Regions from separate parts of the Homo sapiens genome. Here regions 1, 3, 4 and 5 are each linked to region 2. Evidence: promoter capture Hi-C in 16 types of primary human blood cells and fetal thymus (Javierre and others, 2016). All regions are on one chromosome and are shown on one strand. The core of a region is centred on a gene start or on the middle of the fragment in contact, and the rest is flanking DNA. Distances in the headings are between cores, read along the strand shown.

What was found. The method cuts DNA at HindIII sites, captures the fragments that hold promoters and counts their contacts. A CHiCAGO score of 5 or more calls a contact.
Region 1: a contact is called between a fragment that was not itself captured here and the fragment with the promoter of OR6K2 in region 2, in 1 of 17 cell types (megakaryocytes). The highest score is 5.1, in megakaryocytes.
Region 3: a fragment that was not itself captured here is called in contact with the fragment with the promoter of OR6K2 in region 2 in 1 of 17 cell types (erythroblasts); the score reaches 5.3 in erythroblasts.
Region 4: a contact is called between a fragment that was not itself captured here and the fragment with the promoter of OR6K2 in region 2, in 1 of 17 cell types (megakaryocytes). The highest score is 6.3, in megakaryocytes.
Region 5: a contact is called between a fragment that was not itself captured here and the fragment with the promoter of OR6K2 in region 2, in 3 of 17 cell types (megakaryocytes, erythroblasts and M2 macrophages). The highest score is 8.2, in megakaryocytes.

What each region holds. Positions count from the first base shown.
Region 1 is chr1:159,081,825-159,084,524 of GRCh38, reverse strand. It overlaps a transcript of AIM2 not described here. Among named protein-coding and RNA genes, the nearest start is that of AIM2, 6.4 kb to the right of the region's middle. The HindIII fragment of the contact is 2,342 bases long and covers 90-2,431 here.
Region 2 is chr1:158,699,392-158,702,091 of GRCh38, reverse strand. It overlaps OR6K2 (olfactory receptor family 6 subfamily K member 2), which reads left to right and starts at 1,440. Exons shown (of 1, transcript NM_001005279.3): 1 at 1,440-2,414. The coding sequence starts at 1,440. The coding sequence ends at 2,414. The HindIII fragment of the contact is 9,102 bases long and covers 1-2,700 here.
Region 3 is chr1:159,003,466-159,006,165 of GRCh38, reverse strand. It overlaps a transcript of IFI16 not described here. Among named protein-coding and RNA genes, the nearest start is that of PYDC5, 2.1 kb to the right of the region's middle. RefSeq lists enhancers at 1-253, 254-779. The HindIII fragment of the contact is 4,916 bases long and covers 1-2,700 here.
Region 4 is chr1:158,964,584-158,967,283 of GRCh38, reverse strand. All of the region lies in intron 7 of PYHIN1 (pyrin and HIN domain family member 1), which reads right to left. Among named protein-coding and RNA genes, the nearest start is that of PYHIN1, 34 kb to the right of the region's middle. The HindIII fragment of the contact is 2,926 bases long and covers 1-2,700 here.
Region 5 is chr1:158,983,167-158,985,877 of GRCh38, reverse strand. It overlaps a transcript of PYHIN1 not described here. Among named protein-coding and RNA genes, the nearest start is that of PYDC5, 18 kb to the left of the region's middle. The HindIII fragment of the contact is 1,925 bases long and covers 468-2,392 here.

The DNA of each region.
Region 1 (2,700 bases), core at 11-2,510, 380 kb before region 2:
GCTAGAATTACAGGCATGAGCCACCGTGCCTGGCCTGGGTTTAATATTTTTAATAAAGTTTCTGTCTCCTTAAACTATCAAGGGAAGCTTATGTTGTTTGCAGTAGGAATCTTGAACAGTTCAAGATTGTTGCTTTCTCTCCAGTAGGAAGTCTAGCTGTGTTTTGAGCTGTGTGAAAGGAGAAGGGAAGGATGTGGTGAGCGAGAACCAGAAATAAGTGGGCTTGGAGGAGGGAAGGCCCTGCCTCTCCAGGGTTTTTTCATTTGATCACATTATATAGAATATATAAATTATGTACAAATATGCCAAAAAGCAGGGCAGAGTGATGGAAAGAGAATTGGAATTTTAGAAAATAACCAGATTTAAATTCTGACTCTACCACATACTAGCAGGGTACCCTTGAGCAAATGACTTAACTTCTTTAAACTCTGTTCCCTCACTTATGGGTTTCAATTAATATATTTACCACATAGAGTGGTAGGGTTACATGAGATAGCCTGTGAAAAAGATCTCTCACTTATTGGCTTACTGGCTGAGTGGTAAAGGTTAGCTCTGTGTGCCAGAGGCAATTAGGGACTCTAGAGAATGCATCAATAATTGGTTATATATAGGTGGTCCATAAATATTGACTATTCAATTCCATTGGCCTAGAATTCCACTTTTTGTATTTCCACATGTTAAAACTCTTATTCCTTCCAATAGGACTAGTCCAAGTGCTATTGTTTTTCTCTAATTGGACCTTTCCAAATTCACTTAGCTGGAAGTAAAGAATTCTATTTCTGAAATATTATTATATTTTATCATAGGTCATATTTGGATTAATGGTGTAGAATGTAGATCCTTAGGATAGTATAGAATATAGATCCTTAGAATAGGAAGATACTTGGGTGAGTATTTAGTAGAGCTAAAATTTAGTAGAGCTAAATGGTATAGAATATAAATCCTTAGAATAGGAAGATACTTCAATGAGCATTTAGTAGAGCTATTTATGTTTTAAATTTATTTTCATTCAGTTAATATATTACTATTGATTGAAATTCAATAATATTACAAGGATGATAATAAAGAGTAGTCCCCTGCCTCATACCTTACCACTCCCAATTCCCACTCACTCAAGGCAACATTTTTTAACCTTTCATAATATTGCTACATTCCTAGTTTTCAATTTTAGCCACTCCATTATCTATTGATTTGCTGCAATAGAAGATACAAATTTACTTTTCTTACACCTCTTTTCTTACATTGTTGGAACCCTACATCTTACAAATACATGTACATCATCTCTCTTTCCACTTTCCCAATATGGTCATTTCACAATTGTTGATTAAATCACTGTTTGGTGTTTTACATTACCATAACTATCTAAATAAAACTAATAGTTAAGCCATGTAGTATGTTTAGATTCCTTCTTTATGCATCTTTATTTTTTTCTGAAGTCAGTGACATATCTTTAATAATTTGTTCCATCTTGACGTGCTTATTGCTAATTCTTTTAAAAGATCCAAAACAGTAAAATTTCTCTCAAAATAAATTCAGGTAATTTCTCTGCAACCACCCACTACCTGCAAAACTTACACATATATCTCACACACTTTTTCCTTAGGAAATATTCTTTTTTGAGCTTTCCGTCCCCCTGTTTTGAACAAGTTTCAGTCTAGCTGTGTACAAGTCAAGGTTCAAGGGCTTCTGGTCACCATTATCCTGGGGTGACATCATCCTTGTGGACTGAATGTTTGTGTTACCCCCAAAATTCATATGTTAAAATCCTAACCCCTAATGTGATGATATTAGGAGGTGGGGCTTTGGGGAGGCGATTAGATCTTGAGGGTATGGGCTTCGTGAATAGGATTAGTGCTCTTATACTACGTGGGATAGTGCCCAGGGAGCACTTTCATCTCTTCTGCCATGTGAGGACACAGCAAAAAGCCATCATCTTGCTAGGTGTGGTGGTGCACACCTGCTGTCCAGGACTTAGGGTCCAGCTTTGGCAACATGGCAAGACCTTGCCTTTAAAAAAAAGAAAGAGAGAAAGAAAAGAAAAAAGATGGCTGTCTTTGAACCAGGAAGCAAGTCTTCACCAGGTACTGAATATGCTGGTACCTTGATCTTGGACTTCCCAGCCTCCAGAATTGTGAGAAATAAATGTGTATATAAATTGTTGTTTATAAGTCACTTAGTCTATAGTATTTTTGTTATAGAGGCCCAAACAAACTGAGACATGGAGATTCCTGAATAATTTTGTTCCTTCCTTACATGTACATGTGATTATTATAATTATCAGCTAGGTATAGAAGACGAGGCTGAAAATTGTTTTCCTCAAATGTTAAAGGAATTGCTCCACTCTCTTCTAGCTTCTAGTGTTGTTGTCAAGAATGCCAATTCTATTCTTATTCCTAATCCTCAGATATGATCTATTCTTTCTCAGGAAGCTTTTAGGATCTTCTCTCTCCTTGGTGTTTTGTAATTTTAAAAGCATGTGGCTAGAAAAAAAGAAAGACCTAAAAATCAATCATCTAAGCTCCCACATTAGGAAACTAGAAGAATAAGAGTAAATTAACTGCAAAGTAAGCATAAGAAAATACAGTTTTAAAAAATTAGAGCTGAAATCAATGAAATTGAAAACAAAAATTAAGAGTGCTTCACTGCCTCCTGTTTTCAGGGAGCTGGAGCTTACTTCCCCAGGGACTTGGCTGGGAAGGG
Region 2 (2,700 bases), core at 191-2,690:
GAATTTGCGGTTATGTTTACACTTGGGATATAAAAAATTGAATAATCAGTGAGGAAAACCAGGATAGTGTGGTGTCAAATAGGCAAAAAAAGGAATTTCAAACATTGGGCAATTGACCTTTGGAAGTTAGTGGCAATGAAGACAGAGGGAGGCCATTAAATTTCAATGAGAAAGTCGCTAGTATACCTTAAGAAAAGAGATATGGGAAGTTGAGGGTGGATACATTATTCAGAGATTCAAAGAAGAATGAATAGAATAAATACCTTTTACACATTGGAAAAATAATGCAGTTGTTACAAAGGAGGGAAATAACCTGAATAGAAACAGTATTTTCTCCCAAGATAAGAAGAAATGTGCATGTTTGATTGCAGAAGAGACAAATAAAGTAAAACAAAACATTCTGAAAAGAGAATAAATTAATAGGACAATTTCCTATAATGTGTGTAGTTTAAATTGTATTCTACAGGGCACTGCAGCTCTGCCCTTCCTTCTAACTACCACCATTCAATTGTACCAGAGCAAGTGTACAACTATATTAAGCATTTATTTATTAATATAGTTAGTTTTCATAAGTTACTACATTTGACCAAAGGCTTCTGGTACAAAACCCCTTTAAGATCTCCTTACCAAGAAGACGTAGAAGAGAAGGAAAGGAAGGAGATAGAATAGACTATCTTATAAAACAAGGTAAAATAACTTATGATTATTTATATGGCTTTTCTTCTCCAAATATTCTCTGAATTATGGTTAAGAATATACATATGAAGAGAGGAAGAGTTATTAGAGAAAGAGGGTTGAAAGAATTCACCAGTAATGGTTTTGTCTTTATTATAAAAATATGCCAATCAAATCATATGCCAAGAATCCAATAAACTGGGAGCTTGAAGAAAAAATATATGGAACAATGTGGGGAGATTATTAGGGAATCAATAAGATTTAAATATCGAAAAGAACGTCCTCTTAATTATTGATTATTCCTTCAATGCTCTGTCTAATTCTATATTCGCCTAAACAAAGTTGTTTTAAAATATAGTCCCCTGACCAGCAGGACCACCATTGCCTGAAAATTTGTTAGAAATGAAAATTCTTGGGTCCTACCTCAGAACTACAGATTAGGACCGAACTCTCAGTATGAGGACCAGCAATATGAGTTTTAACAAGCCCTCCAGGTGATTCTGATGCATGTTAATATATCTGAGAATCTCACATCCAAAATATTGACTGTGCTTTCTGACTGGATTTTTTCCACACTACAACTTAAGTCGTAAGCAACTATAGAATATGGACCATGTCCTTCTTCCTTGTCTTCCTCTCTATCCCCATTACAGGGCTCTATTCAGACGCTGGCTTCTTGTAAGTGTATTCCTTTATCCAATAGTAGATGCCTCCTAGAAGGCTTGAGTGCACTGGAAATTGAAACTCTCACTTTCAACTTGGAGATGGAGAGCCCCAATCGAACCACCATTCAGGAGTTTATCTTCTCCGCTTTCCCTTATTCCTGGGTTAAGTCTGTTGTCTGCTTTGTTCCACTGCTCTTCATCTATGCTTTCATTGTTGTTGGAAACCTGGTCATCATCACAGTGGTCCAGTTGAATACTCACCTCCACACTCCCATGTATACTTTTATCAGTGCTCTTTCTTTCCTGGAGATTTGGTATACCACAGCCACAATCCCAAAGATGCTGTCTAGCCTGCTTAGTGAGAGGAGCATTTCCTTCAATGGTTGTCTCCTGCAGATGTATTTCTTCCATTCCACCGGCATCTGTGAGGTGTGTCTCTTGACAGTTATGGCCTTTGACCACTACCTGGCCATATGCAGCCCTCTTCATTATCCCTCTATCATGACCCCCAAGCTATGTACCCAACTGACTTTAAGTTGCTGTGTTTGTGGCTTTATCACACCCCTTCCTGAGATTGCCTGGATCTCTACACTGCCATTTTGTGGTTCGAATCACCTTGAACATATCTTCTGTGACTTCCTCCCAGTGCTGCGTCTGGCCTGCACAGACACACGAGCCATCGTCATGATTCAGGTAGTGGATGTCATTCATGCAGTGGAGATTATTACAGCTGTGATGCTCATCTTCATGTCCTACGATGGTATTGTGGCTGTAATTCTACGTATTCATTCAGCTGGAGGCCGCCGCACAGCATTTTCCACGTGTGTCTCTCACTTCATTGTCTTTTCGCTCTTCTTTGGCAGTGTGACTCTCATGTACCTACGCTTCTCTGCCACCTACTCTTTGTTCTGGGATATAGCCATTGCTCTGGCCTTTGCAGTTTTGTCTCCCTTCTTCAACCCCATTATCTATAGCCTGAGGAATAAAGAAATAAAAGAAGCTATAAAAAAGCACATAGGTCAAGCTAAGATATTTTTTTCCGTAAGACCAGGGACCTCAAGTAAGATATTTTAGTTGAGATTCTGTATAGTTGCTGGTTCCTCTTCACCTTCAGCTCTCAGCAATCTGTCTTTTCCTATCAACCTTCTATTCAAACTGGTCTCCCAAAGCTCACCAAACCAAACCAAACCAAACCAAACAAAAGGAAACAAATTCAGCAATAGCTAACGTCAATAACTTCTATTTAATCATTACTCAATTAGACATATTTTTCAATCTGACTTTATTAATTACAGTTTCTGCCACTCAAGTTATTCAAAGTAAATTCATTTTGTTGAAATGTTCTGCATAAACATTTACT
Region 3 (2,700 bases), core at 1-2,500, 300 kb before region 2:
GTGTGGGGTATTTTCTTAACTCGCTTGGGTACAACAATATAAGCACAAGGCAAGCTCAGACCAAAGAAGAGGCAGACCACTCCTGGCTGGTTGGTAGTCAAAGATCTAGATAGCAGAAACTTACACAGGAGGCAGTCTTAAGCGGGAACAAGAGAAGTCAGATCTCCACCTCGCAGTGCACGCCTGAGTAGTCTTTCAGACAGTGAGAAGAAACAAGGAAGGAAAAGCTGATGGGGGCGCTGAGGGGTGGGGATAGCTATACCGATAGTGCCTTAGGCCATCTGGTTGCTCTCTTAATCTATTTACTTCCTGCTTAAATGGATTGTTTGAGCTTCCTTCAATCTGTTCCACATTGCTAAGGAGTGGGAGGATGTTCCTGGAAGCAGCAGTCATCTTGGTGCCAGTATGCATTTTCCAGTGGGACTGCAGCCTCCTACAATTCAATTTAAGCTCAGTTCCCAGAACACGTTTTCACAACAATGCCATTCCTTCCCCTCCAACCTCAAGGCTTCTCTCAGCCAGTCCTTCCTTGAAATTTTGTAGTTTCTGTATTGCAGTTTTGTATTCTACTTTTCCTGTTGCTCAAAGCTAATGCCATAAACTCCAGACAACTCTGTTGGCAGAAAGAGCTTCTGTAGTTCTAGGGATGACCTCTTTACTTTGGAGTGGAATAAAAGAGACTCAGTGTTGAGGCAGGAGAGGAGAGTGAATGCATATGGAAACCTGGGGAGTGATGTGAACCAGTCATGATATACTGTACAAGGCCAGAGTTGGCATCATTCATCTGTTTATTGCATGTCTCATGGAGAAAATATGAGTGAAAGAAGTTTCTGGTTCATGAAAACTCCTGTTCTCTGACCCTCCCTGTAATGGACATGCATACTTTCCCACTGTCTTAGTCCATTTAGTGCTGCTGTAATGGAATACTATAGACTGGGTAATTTATACAGAACAGAAATGTATTTCTCACAGTACTTGAGGTGGAAGTCCAAGGTCAAGCATCAGTATCTGGTGAGGCCTTCTTGCTGTGTCCTCACATGACAAACGGGGCGAATTCACCCCCTACATGCCCGTTAGAGTGGCATTAATCAGTCTATTTACGTGAGTGAAATTCTCATGATCTAAATACCTCCCATTTGGCCCAAGCTCCCAACACTGTTGCATTGGGTACTAAGTTTCAACATTATTTTTGAAGGGGGTAAAAACATTGATAGTTTCTACTTCTCCGGCTTTATCTCTGCTATCTTCATTCTTTATTTGCTTATTTTATCTAAAACTGTTCTCCAGAAAGCATTCTTTGAGGATCTTTACTAGATTGATAATTTCTTTACTCTGTTTAATTTCAGGACTTCACTTTGGCTGTCAAAATTTCCCTTGATATAATTTATCTCTAAAATTGAAGATGAGATTCTCTACTGTTGTCAGTAATGAACTCTCCACCCTAAACATCTGGTTTTGGGAATTTTTTTTCTTTTGAGACGGAGTCTTGCTCTGTTGTGATGGCACGATCTCGGCTCATTGCAACCTCTGCCTCCCAGGTTCAAGTGATTCTCCTGCTTCAGCCTCCTAAGTAGCCAGAATTACACGCATGCACCATCAAGCCTGGCTAATTTCTGTATTTTCAGTAAAGACAAGGTTTCACCATGCTGGCCAGGCTGGTCTCAAACTCCTGATCTCAAGTGACCCACCCACCTCGGCCTCCCAAAGTGCTGGGATTAGAGGCGTGAGTCACGATGCCCGGCTGGTTTTGGGAATTCTTACCCCAAATTACTAACATCTATAATTTACTCAGATTTACTTAGCAATAAGGGCAAAATTAACTGAAATTTAGATTTCTTAACCTTTTTTTTTTCTTTTGGAGATAAGGTCTTGCCATGTTGCCCAGGCTGATCTCAAACTCCAGAGCTCAAACAATCTACCTACCTCAGCCTCCCAAAGTGCTGGGATTACAGGCATAAGCCACCACATCCATCCTTAATATTTTGGCTGGAATTTGGGTATTAATATATTAAGAAGAGAGAAATAAAATTTACAAGTAATGGAGAAGTGGTGTTTGAATTTTATTTCCTTTTATGTTTTAGATTAAGGGTTGACAATCTTTGGTTCAAGGAAAGAAACTGCTGTTCACACAAATAAGTGCTTCTATGTGTTTGAATGTTTAAGGTATCAAGTCATGAGTGTCAGAAATGCAAAATAATACAGAATTGGCTGGGCGCGGTGGCTCACGCCTGTAATCCCAGCACTTTGGGAGGCTGAGGCGGGCGGATCACAAGGTCAGGAGATCGAGACCATCCTGGCTAACACAGTGAAACCCCGTCTCTACTAAAAATACAAAAAATTAGCTGGGCATGGTGGCGGGCGCCTATAGTCCCAGCTACTCGGGAGGCTGAGGCAGGAGAATGGTGTGAACCCAGGAGGCGGAGCTTGCAGCGAGCCGAGCTCATGCCACTGCACTCCAGCCTGGGCGACAAAGCGAGACCCCGTCTCAAAACATAATAATAATAATAATAATAATACAGAATTATGGACATACAAGATAGGAGAAGTTTATGGTGCAAATACCTATCGCCTTGGTCTTTTTGTTCCCTAACTCAGTGACAGGTGGCTAACTGCTCCTTAGGCTGATAGAGCCAAAACGTGATTCCAGCCTAAGAATCACAAAAGAGCAAAACAGAGGAGGGATTGCTTAGGTAACAGAGA
Region 4 (2,700 bases), core at 145-2,644, 270 kb before region 2:
ATCCAAAGTGATGTACACAGTGCCTGTCACATAAGACACAATATACAAAACAGACTACATTCTAAGAAAACCCTCTCATCCCACAAATAGCCTGCTCTAGAAAAAAATGTAGTATGGTGATTTCCAACCTTGATGAATACAATAAATCCTTTTGTCAATTTTTGTGGCAATTGTGAACGGAATTGCATTCCTGTTTTGACTCTCAGCTTGGATGTTGTTGGTTTATAGGAATGTGTACTGATTTTTGTATATTGATTTTGTATCCTGAAACTTTGCTGAAGTTGTTTATGAGATCAAAGAGCTTTTCTGCAGAGACTATGGGTTTTTCTAAATACAGGATTTTGTCATCTGCAAAAAGTGATAGTTTGACTTTCTCTTTTCCTACTTGGATGCCTTTTATTTCTTTATCTTGCCTGATTCCTCTGGCCGGGATTTCTAGTACTCTATTGAATAGGAATGGTGAGGGAGGCCATCCTTGTCTTGTTCCAGTTTTCAAGGGGAGTGCTTCTAGCTTTTGTCCATAAAGTATGATGTTGGCTGTGGGTTTGTTGGAAATGGTTCTTATTATTTTGAAGTATGTTCATTCAATGTCTAGAGTATTTAGGGTTTTTAACATGAAGGGATGTTGCATTTTATTGAAAGCTGTTTCTGCATCGATTGAGATGATTATGTAGCTTTTTGGTTCTGTTTATGTGATGAACCACATTTATTGTTTTGTATATGTAACTTTGTATTCCAGAGATAAAGCCTACTTGATTGTGTTGGACTAGCTTTTTGAAGTACTGCTAGATTTTGTTTACTTGTATTTTTTTGAGGATTTTTGCATGTATGTTCATCAAGAATAACCACCTGAAGTTTTCTTTTTTTGTTGTGTCTCTGCCTTTTGTTATCAGGATGATGCTGGCCTCATAGAATGAATTGGAGAGGAGTCCCTCCTCCCCAGTTTTTTGAATAGTTTTAGTAGGAATGGTACCAGCTCATCTTTATGCATCTGATAGCATTTGGCTGTGAATCCATCTGGTCATGGGCTACTTTTAGTTGGTAGACTTTTTCTTACTGATTCAATTTCAGAACTTGTTATTGGTCTATTCAGTTATTCAGTTTCCTCCTGGGTTAGTCTTCAGAGGTTGTATGTGTCTAGGAATTTATCCATTTCTTCTAGGTTTTATAGCTTGTGTGCATAGAGGTGATTATAGTAGTCTCTGAAGGATTGTTGTATTTCTGTGGGGTCAGTGGTAATTTCCCTTGGTCATTTCTAATTGTGTTTATTTAGATCTTGTCTCTTTTTTTAGTCTATCTAGCAATCTTTCTTATTAATTTTTTCAACAGATGAACTCCTGGATTCGTTGATCTTTGTCTGTTTTTTTCACATCTCAATTTCTTTTAGTTTAGCTCTGATATTGGTTATTTCTTTTCTCCTGCTGGCTTGGGGATTGATTGTTCTTGCTTTTCTAGTTCTTCTAGTTGTGATGTTGGGTTGTTAATTTGAGATCTTTTAAATTTTTTGATGTGAGCGCTTAGTGCTACAAACCTCTCTCTTAAGACTGACTTAGCAATGTCCCAGAGATTCTGATGTATTTTATCTTTGTTCTCATTAGTTTCAAAGAATTTCTTTATTTCTGCCTTTATTATTCACCCAAAAGTCATTCAGGAGAAGGCTGTTTAATTTCCATGTAATTGTATGGTTGGAGCCATTTTCTTACTATAGATTTATACTTTTATGCACTGTGTTCTGAGAAGGTGGTTGGTATGATTCTGTTTTCTTGAATTTGCTGAGGATTGTTTTATATCTGATCGTGTGGTCGACTTCAGAGTGTGTGCTATGTGGCAGTAAGAAGAATGTGTGTTCCATTGTTTTAGGTTGAGAGTTCCATAAATGTCCATTAGGTCCATCTTGTCAAGTATTGAGTGCAGTTCCTGAATATCTTTGCTATTTTTTTTTGTTTGCCTGAATGATCGATCTAATACTGCCAGTGTGGTATTGAAGTCTCCCACTATTATTGTATGTGACTCTAAGTCTCTTTGTGGGTCTCTGAGAACTTGTTTTATGAGTCTAGGTGCTCCTGTGTTGTGTGTGTATATATTCAAGGTAGTTAGGTCTTCTTGTTGAATGAAAGCCTTTACCATTATGAAATGCCCTTCTTTGTCTTTTTAACTCTTTGTTGGTTTAAAGTCTGTTTTTTCTGAAATTATGATGGCACCCTCTGTTTTTTTTTTCTGCTTTCTATTTGTTTGGTAGATTTTTCTTTGTCCTTTTATTTTGAGCCAATGGGTGTCATTGCATGTGAGACAGGTCTCTTGAGGACAGTATACCATTGGGTCTTGCTTCTTTATCCAGCCTGCCACTCTGTGACTTTTAAGTGGAGTGTGTAGCCTGTTTACATTAAAGGTTAATATTGACATCTGCAGATTTGATCCTGTCATTGTGTTGTTAGCTGATTATTATGCAGACTTGTTTCTGTGGTTGCTTCATAGTGTCACTATTCTGTGTACTTAATTGTGTTTCTGTAGTGTCTGGTAATGTTCTTTCCTTTTCATACTTAGTGTTCCTTTCAGTATCTCTTATAAGGCAGGTCTGGTGGTAACAAATTCCCTCAGCATTTGCTTGTCTGAAAAGGATCTCATTTCTTTTTCATTTTTGATGCTTTGTTTGGCTGTATGTGAAATTCTTGCTTGGAAATTATTTTCTTTAAGAATGCT
Region 5 (2,711 bases), core at 181-2,680, 280 kb before region 2:
CAGATAAAAATAAAGGAAAAAATAATAAAATATGAACGAAACTTCAAGAAATATGAGTTTATGTAAAGAGACCAAACCTACAACTGATTTGCATCACAGAAAGAGAGGGAGAGAGACCAAGCAACTTGGAGAACATATTTGAAGATATTGTCCCTGAAAATTTACCTGACCTTGCTAGAGAGGTTGACATGTAAATTCAGGAAATTCAGAGTACCCCAGCAAGATATTACACAAGATGACAATCCCTAAGACACATAGTTATCCAATTCTCCAAGATCAAGGTAAATAAAACATATGAAAGGCAGCAAAAGAGAAGAGGCAGATCATGTACAAAGGGAACCCTTATCACACTAACAGTGGACCTTTCAGCAGAAATTTTTCAAGCCAGAAAAGATTAAAGGCCTACATTCAGCATTCTTAAACAAAAGAAATTCTAACCATGATTTCATATCCAGCCGAACCAAGCTTTGTAAGTGAAAAAGAAACATAATCCTTTTCAGACAAACAAACACTAAGCGAATTTGTTACCATTAGGCCTGCCTTATAAGAGGTCCTTCAGGGAGTGCTGAACATGGAAACAAAAGGCTGCTACCTGCCACAAAACAACACACTTAAGTAAATATTCCACTGACACAATATGCAACTATACAATCAAGTCTACATAACAACCAGCTAATAACACTATGACAGGATCAAATCCTTACATATCAATATTAACCTTGAACATAAGCAGGCTAACCACTCCACTTAAAAGGCACAGAATGGTAAGTTGGATAAAGAAGCAAGACTCAATTACATGCTGTCTTCAAGAGACCCACCTTACATGTAAAGACACAGGCTTAAATTAAATGGATGGAGGAATATCTATAAAGCAAATGGAAAACAAACAAAATAGAGCAGGGGTTGCTCTTTTATTTCAGGAAAAAAAAAACAGACCTTAAACCAAAAGCTATCAAAGAGGATGAAGAAGGGCATCACATAATGATAAAAAGTTCAATTCTACAAACAAGACTTAACTATCCTAAAGATGTGTGCATTCAGCACTGGCACAACCAGATTCATAAAACAAGTTCTTAGAGACCTATGAAGAGAACTAGCTAACCTCACAATAATAGTGGGAGAATACAACACCCTACTAACATTGTTAGATAAATCATTGAGGGAGAAAACTAACAAAGATATTCAGGAACAAAATTTCACACTTGACTAAATTGACCTAACAGACATATAAGGAACATTCCACTCAACAACAGAATATACATTCTTCTCATCTGCACATGGCACATACTCTGTGCCACATGCTTGGCCACATGCTTGGCCATAAAGCAATGCTCAGGAAATTCAAAAAACAGAAATTATATCAACCACACTCTCAGATCACAGTGCAACAAAAATACAAATCAATACCAAGAAGATCTCTGAAAATCATAGAAGTATTTGGAAATTAAACAACTTACTCCTGAATGACTTTTGGGTAATAAATTAAATTAATGCAGAAATCAAGAAATCTTTGAAACTAATGAAAACAAAAATACAATATATCAGAGTCTCTGGGACACAGCTAAAGCAGTGTTAAGAGAAAAGTTTATAGCACTAAAGGCCTACATCAAAAAGTCAGAAATATCTTAAATTTATACCTAACATCACATTTACAGGAACTAGAAAAAACAAAAGGAAACCAACCCCCAAACTAGCAGAAGAAAAATAATAATCAAAATCTAAGTTGAACCAAATAAAATTGAGATGTGAAAATTCACAAAAATAATTAAGAAAACTAAAAATTGGTTTTTTGAAAGAATAAGATATATAGACCACTAGCCAGATTAATATACAAAAAAAAAAAAAAAAACAGGAGAAGATCCAAATAAATACAATTAGAAATGACAAAGGGGACATTACCATGGAACCCACAGAAATACAAAAACTCTCAAAGACCATTATGAACAATTTCTATGCTGAAAAACTAGAAAATCTAGAAGAAACAGATAAATTCCTGAAAACATACAACCTGCCAAGATTGAACCAGGAAGACATTGAATACCTAAACAGATCAATAACAAGTTCTGAAATTGAATCCATAATAAAATACCTACAAACCAACAAAAGCCATGGATCAGACAGATTCACATCTGAATTCTACCTGATAGATAAGGAGGAGCTGATACCAATCCTACCAAAATTATTCCAAAATATTGAGGAGCGGAGACTCTGCCCTGAATCATTCTATGAGGTCAGCATTATTCTGATACCAAAACCTGACAGAAACACAAAGGAAAAACAAATTCAGGACAATATGCCTGATAAATATTGATGCAAAAGTCCTCAAAAAAAAATACTAGCAAACTAAATCCAGCAGCACAGCAAAAGCTAAGCCACCATGATCAAGTAAGCTTTACCCCTGGAATGCAAAGTTGGTTCAACATACGCAAATTGGTAAATGTGATTTATCACATAAACAGAACTAAAAACAAAAATCACGTGATTATCTAAATAGATGCAGAAAAGGTTTCAATAAATTCAACATTCTTTCATGTTAAAAACCCTCAACAAACTAGGTATCAAAGGAACATACCTCAAAATGAGACATCTATGACAAAACCACAGCCAACATCATATCACAAATAGGCAAAAGCTGAAATCATACCTCTTGAGAACCAGAACAAGACAAAGTTGCCTACTCTCACTACTCCTGGTTCAACATAGCACTGGAA